3 separate regions of the Homo sapiens genome follow, and all the other regions are linked to region 1. The links are contacts of gene promoters, found by promoter capture Hi-C in blood cells and fetal thymus (Javierre and others, 2016). All regions are on one chromosome and are shown on one strand. The core of a region is centred on a gene start or on the middle of the fragment in contact, and the rest is flanking DNA. Distances in the headings are between cores, read along the strand shown. Region 1 holds the start of NVL (nuclear VCP like). Region 2 overlaps TP53BP2 (tumor protein p53 binding protein 2). Region 3 overlaps TP53BP2 (tumor protein p53 binding protein 2).

Region 1 (4,257 bases), core at 1,046-3,545:
TGACTGAACAACGAGAACAAAGGTCCTGTGCTTGGCATGTTTGAGAAGGTCTGTGTGGCTGGGACAGGAGAGGAAAAGTAAACTAGGACAACAGAGGCCAGAATATGCAGGGCTTTTCAGACTGGGTTTTACTCTAGATGTCTGTGACTCCACTGAAAGGTTTTGAGCAGGGCTATGGCAAGCTCTGATTTCCCCCCCCTTTTTTTTAGTTATACTTTAAGTTCTGGGATACATGTGCAGAACATGCGGGTTTGTTACATAGGTATACAGGTGCCATGGTGGTTTCCTGCACCCATCAACCCGTCATCTACATTAGGTATTTTTCCTAATGCTATCCCTCCCCTAGCCCGATTTTTCCCTTTAAAAGGATGTCTTGGCCACGCCTGTAATCCCAGCACTTTGGGAGGCTGAGGCGGGCAGATCACCTGAGGTCAGGAGTTCGAGACTAGCCTGGCCAACATGGTGAAATCCCATCCCTACTAAAAATACAAAAAGTAGCCAGGCGTGATGGCATGCACTTGTAATCCCACGTACTCGGGAGGCTGAGGCAGGAGAATCACTTGAACCCAGGAGGCAGAGGTTGCAGTGAGCAGAAAAAAAAAAAAAAATTAGATGTCTCTGGCTGCTCTGTGGGGAATAGGCTTTAGGTAAAAGCAGAATCAGAGAGATCAGTTAGGAGGCTATTGTAATAGTATAAGGTAGAGATGATGGTTTGGACTAAGATGGTTACAGGGAAAGACAGTAAGAAGTACTTGGAATATATTTTGAAAGTAAAGCCAACCAGGCTGTTGACAGATGGTATACAGGAAATGAAAGACTCAGAATGATCCTTAAGGTTTTTGGCCTTAACAACAGGACGAACGGTAGTATCATTTACTGAGATACAGAACACTAAGAAAGGGCAGATTTGAAGGAAGAAAAAAATCACAAATTCCACTTGGCCATTTTAATTTGGAGATATGCTGACTAGGCAGCTGGATATATCAATCTGTACTTCAAGATAAAATCTGGACTGGAGATATAAAGTTAGCAGTCATAAATATACAGAGGCCAGTGCAGCAGCTTGCACCGGTAATCCCAGCACTTTGGGAGGCTGAGGCCCGATCGCTTGAGCCCAGGAGTTAGAGACCAGCCAGAGTAACATAGTGGAACCCCGTCTCTACAAATAATAATAATAATAATAAATTAGCCAGGTGTGGTGGTGCACACCTGTAGTCCCAGCTACTGGGGAGGCTGAGGAGGGAGGATCACTTGAGTCAGGGAGGCCGAGGGTGCAGTGAGTTATGATTGTGCCCATAAACAGCCACTGCACTCTAGCCTGGGCAACAGAGCGAGACTATGTCTCAGAAAAATAAAAATAAAATGAAATAAATACATAGATAATAGAGTATGTAGATACTACTCAAAGGTTATTACACTAAATGAGATCACATAGGAAGTATGGATAGATAAGAAAGGTGTATGAGGAAAGAGGAGGAAGGGGAGGTAAGAGAACAGTGGCACAGAGCACTTCCAACATTTACAAGTTGGTAGGAAAAGATGGGTCCGAAAAGGAGATTGTTTAGGGGCTGGTGAAGTGAAAGAAAAACAAGGAGAATGTGTAGCTCACAAATTCCTAAGTGAAGAAAATTCTCTCCCACCTTTTAACTCAGACTGCTTGCTTACATTCTGAGGTATTTGCCACACACTGCTTTTTACTGATGGTCATGAAAATGAGAAAACCGTAGGCAAAGTGCCTGTTACTGTTGCCAGACCCATGTTATCTCGTTTTAGTGTGTAAGTTCCTTGAGAACGGAAATTAACATATTATTTATGCCACCCCTTCTCAAGGACCTCTTACAATGCGAGCGTTTGAAGACCATTCCTGTGCTAACTTCACAAGCCAAAGAGGTTAAAATTCAAAGGCTACCTCCACTCTACTGAATGATCTGCGCTGAAGACGACCAGACAACTTGGGCAGCCCTACCAAGCTGCACCCTCCCACCATCCCCGGCTTCTCCCTGAGACTCCGCACCAACGTGGGTAGGGAAGGCCCCGGCAGCACCAACTAAGGAGAAACAGACGCACGCCCAGACCCAGACTGGGGAAAGAAGACTAGTTGAGTTCCACCTGGATGCCACCCGACAAAAGGGGAGTGGCACCCTGGGGCAGCGATCGGGGCCCTTGGCGAGGCCAAGCGGTGCAGAATACACACCTGGATGACTCGCTGCTTGAGTTTATTATCCACGAACCCTGCAGGTCTGGGCTTCATCGCGTCGGTCTTCCAAGCCACAGCTCGGACCGCCAGCTCCTAGTCAACCGGGGGCCTCGTAGGGGTTGCCCGCCGCGATCGCCGGGCCAGTTGCACCTGAAATGCGCCCCTCCTGGGGCCTAGCCCGCGCCGTTTCCGTCAGAATAAAAGTAATGCGAATGAAGGGGAAAAAATTCCGAGGAGAGGGAGAAGACTTGAAAACCTCAGGGAGTTTCTAGGGGCCTTATTTTGCAGGCCTGCCCAGTGGACCCTGGAAGATTAGGACCCCTTTGAACGCGCTCAACTTTATTGGTTCCCCGCCGGGCGAACCAGGTGGGAGGAAGTTCCTACCCCGGCGCGGTGTGCGGAGACGCTGTCAACGGCGTCCTCTGGAAAACTTGGTTTGCTTTCCTCAGGCGTTCCAGCCACACCTCATTCTGATACAAAGCTAGTCTTCGCAAAACCAGCCACGGTAGATACTTGGAGTGATAAAATCAGGGTAAAAACACACCACCAGCCGCTGCTTGCTTTCCCACGTAGTTATCTTACATTTTAGAGGCCCGACAAAAGGGCTAGGTGAAAAAGAAAAGGAAGGACGGATTTATCCAGATAACTAAGTCATTTGTTACTTTTAGAACTCGTTTGACTTACGCTGTTATCATCGGCAGGTAATTTGTTGAATATATCCAGTGCAGGACTCCTTGGCCCAGAATTTTATCAAACGTTTGTATTTGCCCCAAGAAGTTTATCCTGCACTTAGGGAGACACAAAGGGACAGTTACCAAGCATTAAAAAAAAAATGCTGGCTTTAGTTTCTGTCTTCTTGTTTATTTCAACCGTGTTTTGAGTATTCTTATTTCAGGTCCTCCTTGGCTTATGACAAGGTTAAGTGCAGTGTATTAAGGGGCAGAGGGGAGAGAAAATGGAATTAAGAGAAGGGCGTGAGGCCGGGCACGGTGGCTCACACCTGTAATCCCAGCACTTTGGGAGGCCGAGGCGGGCAGATCACTTGAGGTCAGGAGTTCACGACCAGCCTGGCCAACATGGTGAAACCTTGTCTCTACTAAAAATATAAAAATTAGCACTGAATTAAGTATTAGATTTCCCACTCAAAATATTGATCCGTTTGGTTGCAACTTCATTTCCTACTTCTTCACTATGTGTAGTTTTATTTTTTATTTTTTTAGTTGTAAAATATAAGAACATTCACCATCTTAAACATTTTAAAGTGTGCAGTTTAGTGATAATACATTCATAATATGCAACCATCACTGCCATCTAGTTCCAGAACTCTTTTCATCTTGTACAACTAAAACTCTATACTAATTAAAAAATAACTCCCCATTCCTCCCTCCCCCCAGCCCCTGGCAACTACCATTCTACTTACTGTCTTTATGATTTTGACTACACTAACTTCCTCATATAAGTGGAATCTTCCAGTATTTGACTTTTGTGACTGGCTTGTTTCTTAGCTTAATGCCCTCATATAGCATGTGTTAGAATTTCCTTCTTTCTTTTCTTTTTTTTTTTTTTTTTTTTTTGATACAGAGTCTTGCTCTGTTGCCCAGGCTGGAGTGCAGTGGCGCAATCTCAGCTCACTGCAACCTTCGCCTCCTGGGTTCAAGAGATTCTACCACCTCAGCCTCCCAAGTAGTTGGGACTACAGGTGTGTACCACCACACCCGGCTAATTTTTTGTATTTTTAGTAGAAATGGCGTTTTGCCATGTTGGCCAGGCTGATCTCCAACTCCTGACCTGAGGTGATCCACCTGCCTTGGCCTCCCAAAGTGCTGGGATTACAGGTATAAGCCACCGCACCTGGCCTTTCCTTCACTTTTAAGGCTGAATAAAATTTGGCTCTTTTGTTGCCATTCTGCCTTTTGCCATGGGATGACACAGCAAGAAGGCCCTCACCAAATAACAACTCCTTGATATTGGACTTTCCAGCCTTCTTGCATTCATTCAACAAGTGTTTATTGAGTGCCTACCAGTTTCAGTCTCTGCTCTGCGCTTTAGGCTTGTGGGGA
Region 2 (4,257 bases), core at 1,161-3,660, 530 kb before region 1:
TAATTATAATCATACCTCATAAATAATTCTCTGTACAAGGTCAAATTCTCCCTCCAAAGACGAATCTAGCAGTAAAGCAAGGGGGTTGAATTTCACCCTCATTCCATGAGCGATACGCTCTGAGCCAGTTTTACGCAAGTTTGTCCTTTTACCCTGCAAAGAAAATGGGTGGAAAATTTAGGATCCTCGTCTATGCAAGAGAACAACAGCAGCAAATGGGAAGGAATGACTTCTCACCTAAATTAGTGAGAGGCACTTTAACAATATAGATTTGGCACATTTTATTGAAGTATAACATTATTCAGAAAAGTATACGAATCTGACATGCAGCGTAATGAACTTTCACAAAGTGAACAAATACCATGGAGCAAAGTTGGAGGAACATAACTTTATAAAATCTAACATAATTACGTTTGGGTTATATGTTATAGTATGAATTAAACTAAGAGTATAATCAGAAGTGGCAAATAGGCTAGCGTTCTGTCAAGTATCAGAATTAGCCAAGACTGGTCTTTAGACTGCCTATCTAATACAGTACAGCAAACTCCACTCTCTTAAAGTGAGCAACAGCACAGCCCACAACTACAACAGCTAACCTATATTGAATGATTATTCATTAACCCTCACAAAAACCCTATGATCCCTAGTTTACAGATAAGGAAACCAAGGCACACAGCCGGCAAATGGCAGAGCTGGGACGCAAATCCAGGTAAGCTGGCTTCTTTAAAGTCTGCCATCTTAACCATTTCACACCAGAATGCCTCCTCGGGGGAAAGCATATAATTAAGGTAAATAATACAGATTATTAGTCTGTCTTAGGTATAACAAGGATAAATCCTACCAGCTTAAACTTTTAATGAATCGGACTTAAAAAAAAAAAGGCAAAATTTTAAAGACTAGATCCAGTATCCTGTAAAACAGGTTTCTTAAACACACCCAACAAAGTAGAGACGTTTACTGTTGTGAGGTGTGATATATGTACTCCACATAATTCTTTCATTTTATCTCAGATGTGGAAAATTGCCAAGTTTTAAAAAACATTAAGCGACAATACATTTCACAATGTGCAATGACTAAAATGTTGCTCTCTGAATGTTATCTGACTGTGGTTAATACAAGTCATAAGCAGTACAGTGTAATGACACTTGCCGATCCCACTGTTAAAGAATGTACGAGATAGTTGCTTCTATTTTACTTAAATCGAGAAGGAAAAGGTAAGACACCTTCCTAGGAAGAGAACAGCAGAATCTTAAAAAGAAAGTATAATACTTTTACCAATTCTAGTTTTCCTTTTTTCTCCTTGAAAATGTGGATTATTTTGACACAGCAACAAAAAGGCCAGAAAATAACAAGTGGCTGTAACGTGGATTGGTTTTGGCCAATGTGGAATAAAACGTCCTTCTTTTCTTATGTTTAAAACTCAAAGAGAATCAAGCCTCAGAACTTACGAGGCACAGGGTTGTTTAAAAACTGTTAACCTCTATTTTAAAACTTTTTTTTCTAGCTTCAAATGTTTAGTACATAAAACTTTTAAGCAAACATTTACTGTAACCAATTGTTAAAAATAACTGTGGACAATTATTATCTTTGAATACTATCATATCTAAAAGATAATAAGGAATCAAACATGCAAAGTACATTTAAAAAAATTCTTTTAATGCTATTTTGCTTTTCACCAGGTTTTAAATTCATAGTTCAGCATCCTACTTCCTTCCGTGCTTACTGAAGCAAAGTGGCTTCAAATTAAACTATGAAAAAGCAGACTTCATTCAGACATTCTGGGATTTTTATTTTCTCTCACCTATGTCAAAGTGAGAGGATGGAAGCTTAAATTTCAAACAAAAGCTTACTATCTGGAAGGAGTGTAGAAGGTGCACTCAAGCCAAAACATACAAAATCTTAGAATAACTTTCGTATGTTAAAGTACAAAGAAATCTTAGGGATCACCATATTAGCCAGAGATTTTCAGACTTCGTTGAAGGGGAGGAAGAGGCTGAAGAGGGGCCCCTCAGCCCAGTTACCCCTCCCTGCCCTCACTCCATCCAGAACCCTTCCAATTTTACCACTGTTGTAAGTTTGAGGTTTCACCTAACATTTCATTTTTTAAAATTTCACTGCTAGAAAATTTTTAAAAAGATTGACATCATCAATGAGAGAAGTTATACCATCTGCCTGATTTCACACAGCTAAGCTAGTAATCAAAAGTTTCAAACCCAGGTCTTTTGAGTCCCAGTCGGGTGCTGCTTCCCTAATATGTCACATCAGCTAGAGAAGAAACAGCAAATGCAGTGTTTATAGGGATAAGAACAAAACTCTGTTTCTTTCACAAATAAATGGGTTCTCTCTAAAACAGAAAAATGTTCTTTATATTGAATAAACTGCATTATGAAAACATTTATAAGATCCACTCTGTGCCAAGGGAATCGTAAAATAAAAATGCAAACTGGAGAAGATGAATGTGACCACCAAGAAAATCGTAACAAAGTAAAGGACTCCGGAAAAGGCTATGAGATAGTACATTACTTACAGGAGGCAGAGAGACCTGCCCGGTGATTTCAGGCGGGCGCATGCTCACCGAGTCTTCTCCGGGCCCTTCAGGCTCCCCAGATGGGTATGGTGGGGGTGGGTATGGAGGGTACTCCTCCAGGTACACATCAAGCACATGTGGAGCCTCTGGATTTGGTTCTTCTGGGTTATTCTGGAGATTTGGGCTGTTGTCTGGGACTCCCTCAGGCTCATAATCAAGGCCTGGAGAAGGAGCTGGCATGTCACTGTTCTCTGTACTGGCATTCCCCACATCCTCTGGGGACAATGATTCAGGAACCAGAGAGACCACCTCCTTTTCGGGCTCCACATGTAAATATGGATTCTGGATTTCTACTGGGCTTTCTGAGCTGGCAGTCACAGAAGCTGACTTGGATGGGTATGATGGGACAGAGATGGTCTCCATGGCCGCTATGGTGGTCCTCTGATATAAAAGCTTCTGAATATTTGGCCCATTAGGACCCTCTGGCTCTGTAATAGAACTACGTTTCTTTAGAGGCCTTGGTGCGTTAGACAGTTTCTTTCGTAAGGCTTCTAGGTCAGCATCACTCTGGTTTCGGTAAGGATTAGATAAGAAAGGCAGTAATTTAGTTGGGCTGAGTGGCCGAGGAATTCTTTCGTTTTCATGGTTCTCCTGAACTGAAGAAACAGGCTCTGTTTCAGGTTCTGGACTGCCAGGCTTGCCCTGGCTATTGGAATAAATGTTCTCTGGGTGCTGCTGTTGATTCTGGGCAGCAGCAATTACAGGCTTACCATATACTAATTGGAAAAGGAAAAAAAAAAGCCCTCATTAGCATTAATTAAACAAAACTGGCAAGAAACAGAAACAGCTAACAATAACTAAAGCCTCTTTTAATTTCATAGTTGTTACTACATAATCCCCTTCAAATATAATTAATTTTTAAAAATAAATGACAAAGCAGGGAATCCATCTTTGCATAATAAACTTATTACAGAATCAAAACCCCCACTGATTGTAACATGCACCATATCTCATGAAACAATAAGAAAATGTTGCCGTTTTAAGAAATCACTGTAGCATCCAAATTTAAAATAACAAAATGTGAAAAACATTTAGATGCAATGAAAACAGATAATCCTCATGTGTCCAGATTAAAACTAAACATGTACTATCCCATCTTTCACTTTTCAAAAGTGAATCAACGTGAGAACTTCTATTTGGCTTATAAAATTATTAAGAACCACTTATAGTTACCAAAGATATTCCCTGTTAACATTCTGATTATATTAAAATTATCTAATTCCCAAATTATTCCATTTTCACTAAAGACCCATGAAAAGAAGAGTAAGAGGTAGCATATATACTGATTCTTTGCTAATTTTAATTATGGCATCTTAGGTCACAATTACATGGTTATTTCATGACTACAAAGCTATTTTCATTCAATTAAAACATGGTAAGTTTTATTCTAGTCCTATGAAGTAATAATTTAGAAAGAACCCAACAAATTTCCAAACTGTGTATGTTTAATACAAGCTAACCTTCTGTTTTTACATTTAGCTAGCGGCTATGTCCCCATTACAATGACTTAAAATACAGTAGAGAATATATATATATATGTACGTATGTATGTTTTTTTTTTTAGATGGAGTTTCACTCTTGTTGCCCAGGCTGGAGTGCACCATCTCGGCTCACTGCAACCTCCGCCTCCCAGGTTCAAGCAATTCTCCTGCCTCAGTCTCCTGAGTAGC
Region 3 (4,257 bases), core at 1,151-3,650, 520 kb before region 1:
CTGCCTCTAGGTGTGTGGCCTCTGACAAGTCACTTAACCCCTAAGTATCAGCATTTCTCATCTGTAGGGTAGAAGGGGCCAAACTAAGTCAATTCTGCCCCTCAGCTAACCCGTACTATAAATTTAATCATTCCTAATGGTCAGGTACCATATAGACACTTGCGTTAATGCAACAGTTAGTTAATAAAACTGAACTTTTTTTTTGGAGACGGAGTCTCGCTCTGTCGCCCAGGCTGGAGTGCAAATGGTGTGATCTCGGCTCACTGCAACATCCGCCTCCCGGGTTCAAGCGATTCTTCCACTTCAGCCTCCCAAGTAGCTGGGATTACAGACGCCCAGCTAATTTTTGTTTTTTGTTGTTGTTGTTGTTGTTGTTTTCGTTTTTTCAGATGAGTCTTGCTGTGTCGCCAGGCTGCAGTGCGTGGTGCCATCTCGGCTCACTGCAACCGCCAACTCCCTGATTCAAGCGATTCTCCCGCCTCAGCCTCCCGAGTAGCTGGGATCACAGGCACATGCCACCATGCCCAGCTAATTTTTGTATTTTTAGTAGAGACAGGGTTTCACCATGTTGGCCAGGATGGTCTGTCTCGATCTCCTGACTTCGTGATCCTCCCGCCTCGTCCTCCCAAAGTGCTGGGATTACAGGCGTGAGCCACCATACCCGGCCTAATTTTTGTATTTTTAGTAGAGACAGAGTTTCGTCATGTTGGCCAGGCTGGTCTCAAACTCCTGATCTAAGGTGATCTACCCACCTCAGCCTCCCAAAGTGCTGGGATTACAGGCATGAGCCACCGCGCTCAGCCAAAACTGAGCTTTTGTAATGTCCAATAACCCTGCTCGTTCTCCCACATCCTACAAGACTGCTGGGTCACAGGGATGGCTGTGTCCCCAGTGTCTACTGCTGCTTCCCACCCACACTCTCTCTCCACCCTCCCCCTACAGTCATCTATAAACTCTGGTCACAATCCCTGGTCACTAACGATGTGACCAACTGACTCCCTTGTTCTCTCCACCTCCAAGTCCTGCCTTCATTCTGGATGACATTACCGCCCAAATGCTAGCCTCTCAGTTCTAGCTTTCTCGTCTCCACTCTAATTCAGCCTCATTTCAGGGCCCCACCTGGGACCACAACACTAGAAGCCCTCTACCTCCGAAATTTTCAATTCAAACCTTCTGTTTTTTGACCACTATTTCCTTTCAATCTCAGGCGTCTCACTCATTTCCTCTCACACCTGTTCTTTCATCTAACTGAGACTCACAGCCTCTTAACTCTGTCTACTCTTTCCCCACAGCCCCTCCTGTCTTCACTTCTTCCCCACCCAGCTAAGGTATCACCTTGCCAATACCCTCTTCTCCCCTGTCCCACTGAACTCCCATTGAATTTGTCTAGAAACCTTGGGTTTTCTAGACAATTGCCTAGAAAAATTTGTCTAGACACCTTTGTTTTCTTCTCTTCTTACAACCCACCTGGGCTGTAGACCACCACTGGAGAAAAATCATGTATGGTCTCATGGTCTCTAATCTCAACTGGCCTCAATGGTTCCCAGCAGTCTGGCTTCCCTAGTAAGCCCTCTCTCCTAATCTCCAAAACAGCTCCAGCTTCCCACCCACCTCCATCATCACTCCTACCTCAGAGAAAACAAATGTTTTTAGATGAGAAATCCCTCAACTTACTCCCACAAAATGCACAAATTTAGCCACATCTGCCACAGTTTTATTTCTGTCCTGTTATTATGGAAGAGGGATCCTTCCTCTTGTCTAAGAGGACTTTCTGCCTCAGGGCTGTGGAAGGACCTAATCAGGGACCCTGCCTAACAAGTATTTCCTTTCTTATAGTTTCAACCCCCTGCTCTAATGACTCCTTCCCACCTGCATTAAACAACTATAGTCAAACTTCTCCCCTCGACAGCCTATCTCCACTGTTTCCACTTCCTAACCTCTCCTTCACCTCTCAAATTACCTGGCTTCTCATCATGTGCCACCTACTACTCCCAGCACAAAATAAAAGCTTAAATATCTGTCACGATTCACAGAGCACTACCTACCAATGTCCCTGCCAGGGGGGCGTTCATGACGAAGGAAGAAGCGAACTTCGTTCCTCTGACTTCCAAATCGTTGAAGAACATCAAACATTCGCTCATTATCCGCAACTGGACGTTCTAAAGCAAATGAGTAGAAACCACATTATTTTCAGGTAAAAGAAAGATAAATATATCATTCACCATCTATCCTTCATGCAAATTATACATTATGGATACAACAAATGCTTAGTATCTCAGGTAAATTTTTTTCATTAAAACACGTCTTAGAAACTGAAGTCACACAGATTTTCCACACACACAGAGTCAAGCCAGGGTGGAATACTACAAAAGGCAATGCATCTCAGCCAGCTGTCAGGAGCTCAGCAGTCTAAATCCAGTGGGCTCCACGCTGGCCACAGGTGCACCATTTAACTTCTGTGGTTCCAAAAGTTTCTGTAAAATCTATATTAGATCACATAGTCCCTTCTAACACTAATATTCATGATTCTCCGAATATACAAAGAAAATATTAAAAAGCAACTTTCTAAATAGCCTAGTCTTTTTTTTTTAATTGTAGTTTTCAATACAGGCTATTTTTAAATTATAATTTTACAAACAATATTTAAAAAAATCAGACCCATCCATTTCCAAATAAAAGTCTATTTACTGCTGTAAAATGTATCTATATTTGCCCCTCTTCCAGTGAGAATACCAGTGTCAGAATTTTTCTGGAAACAAAAAGAAGGGCACACCTAAATACCTAGTAAAAATAGAAGCTTCAGGAGAAACAATATATCTCAAGCTGTCCTAAAAAAATCTTCCAATCTCAAGGGATCTGGATATAAAAACGAGACACACTGTTTGAGGAGGCAATTGCTTAAAATCAATGAAACTCCAGTAATGTCAACATGATTTTTAAATATAAGAATGTTGAAATACCCTAAGAAAACTCAACACATTTATCAGTAATCAAGGACACTATCTTAACACCTTAAATAAACATGGGCAGAGAACAGAGCAGGCAAGCATTCACCAGCCAATTTGGTGAACCAACCCTGAACTTAATCTGCTTGGCTGCAACAAAATGCAGTTCTGGTTCTACTTCCAGTAACATAACATACTGAGTTGACATAGATAATCCCCTTTTATAAACCACACATATTCTAAGACCTCCCCCAAAAAGGATACACCACAGTTAGAGAGAAACACCTCCAAAAGAAATTCTGAGTAGCCCTTCCACCCACCCCTACAAAATACACACACACATGCTGTACTCAAAACAAGTAAAATCTCCAGGTTCCAGGAGCAAAGAGAGAACTCAAAGGAAGTAAAGTAGCTTGCTGTCCACGCTGGACTGCCCCAGAAAGATATGGACTTCTCACAAGCTCTAGGCTAACATCCCGATGGCCCTGTGATGGCAAAAGATCAGGCATAGGCCTGCATAAGCTGAAACAGACACTTAAAGGCTCTCAAAGCTCCCTACTAACACTCATGTGCCAGCCACACCTACGGTCATGCACTGCATGTTGACAGTGGTCCCATAAGATTTTAAGGCCATATTTTTACTGTACCTTTTCCTATGTTTAGATACACAAATATGTACCACTGTGTTACAACTGCCTACAGTATTCAATACAGTAACATGCTGTACAGGTTTGTAGCCTAGGAGCAAAAGGCTGTATACCATATAGCCTAGGTGTGTAGTAGGCTATACCATCTAGATTTGTGTAAGTACGCTCTATGATGTTCACACAACAAAATCACCTAATGACAAATTTCTCGGCACGTATCACCATTATTGACACATGACTGTATCTCCTTGACAGGGCATTCCTGCCTATGTGACTCTGAACATGCCATTCCTATCATTCATCATCTCCCCCAGCACCCTTTTCTCCTGCAGATGAAATACATCTATTACTGCAACTATCACATTGTATTATAAATGTCTGTGGATACTTGTTTCTCTTTGTGCCCTGTAAGATACCTGAAGGCAACTTTCATCTCTGTATCCCTCTCAATCAAGTGCAGTCCCTAGCACATAACAGGCATCCGAGAAATATTCACTAAGCAAATACACGAGTGGGTAGTGAGGAAATGCAAAAGGAAACAAGACAGGAGAGGAGAAGAAAGGCTAAACACTTAGAGAATTAAATAATAGGGGAACACATTTACACCTCTGGAATAAGAATTTTTTTTTTAATAACACACTAATAGGCCTAAGATCCTGAATGGT

The links. The method cuts DNA at HindIII sites, captures the fragments that hold promoters and counts their contacts. A CHiCAGO score of 5 or more calls a contact.
Region 2: a contact is called between a fragment that was not itself captured here and the fragment with the promoter of NVL in region 1, in 7 of 17 cell types (naive B cells, total B cells, total CD4 T cells and 4 more). The highest score is 9.5, in naive B cells.
Region 3: a contact is called between a fragment that was not itself captured here and the fragment with the promoter of NVL in region 1, in 7 of 17 cell types (total B cells, naive B cells, naive CD8 T cells and 4 more). The highest score is 12.4, in total B cells.

The regions. Positions count from the first base shown.
Region 1 is chr1:224,327,877-224,332,133 of GRCh38, forward strand. It overlaps NVL (nuclear VCP like), which reads right to left and starts at 2,296. Exons shown (of 23, transcript NM_002533.4): 1 at 2,195-2,296. The coding sequence starts at 2,251. RefSeq lists enhancers at 1,864-2,003, 2,054-2,103, 2,294-2,343, 2,364-2,513. The HindIII fragment of the contact is 14,633 bases long and covers 1-4,257 here.
Region 2 is chr1:223,793,288-223,797,544 of GRCh38, forward strand. TP53BP2 (tumor protein p53 binding protein 2) reads right to left here. Exons shown (of 18, transcript NM_001031685.3): 13 at 2,528-3,303; 14 at 16-153. Among named protein-coding and RNA genes, the nearest start is that of TP53BP2, 51 kb to the right of the region's middle. The HindIII fragment of the contact is 1,135 bases long and covers 1,844-2,978 here.
Region 3 is chr1:223,812,195-223,816,451 of GRCh38, forward strand. It overlaps TP53BP2 (tumor protein p53 binding protein 2), which reads right to left. Exons shown (of 18, transcript NM_001031685.3): 3 at 2,046-2,159. Among named protein-coding and RNA genes, the nearest start is that of TP53BP2, 32 kb to the right of the region's middle. The HindIII fragment of the contact is 789 bases long and covers 2,007-2,795 here.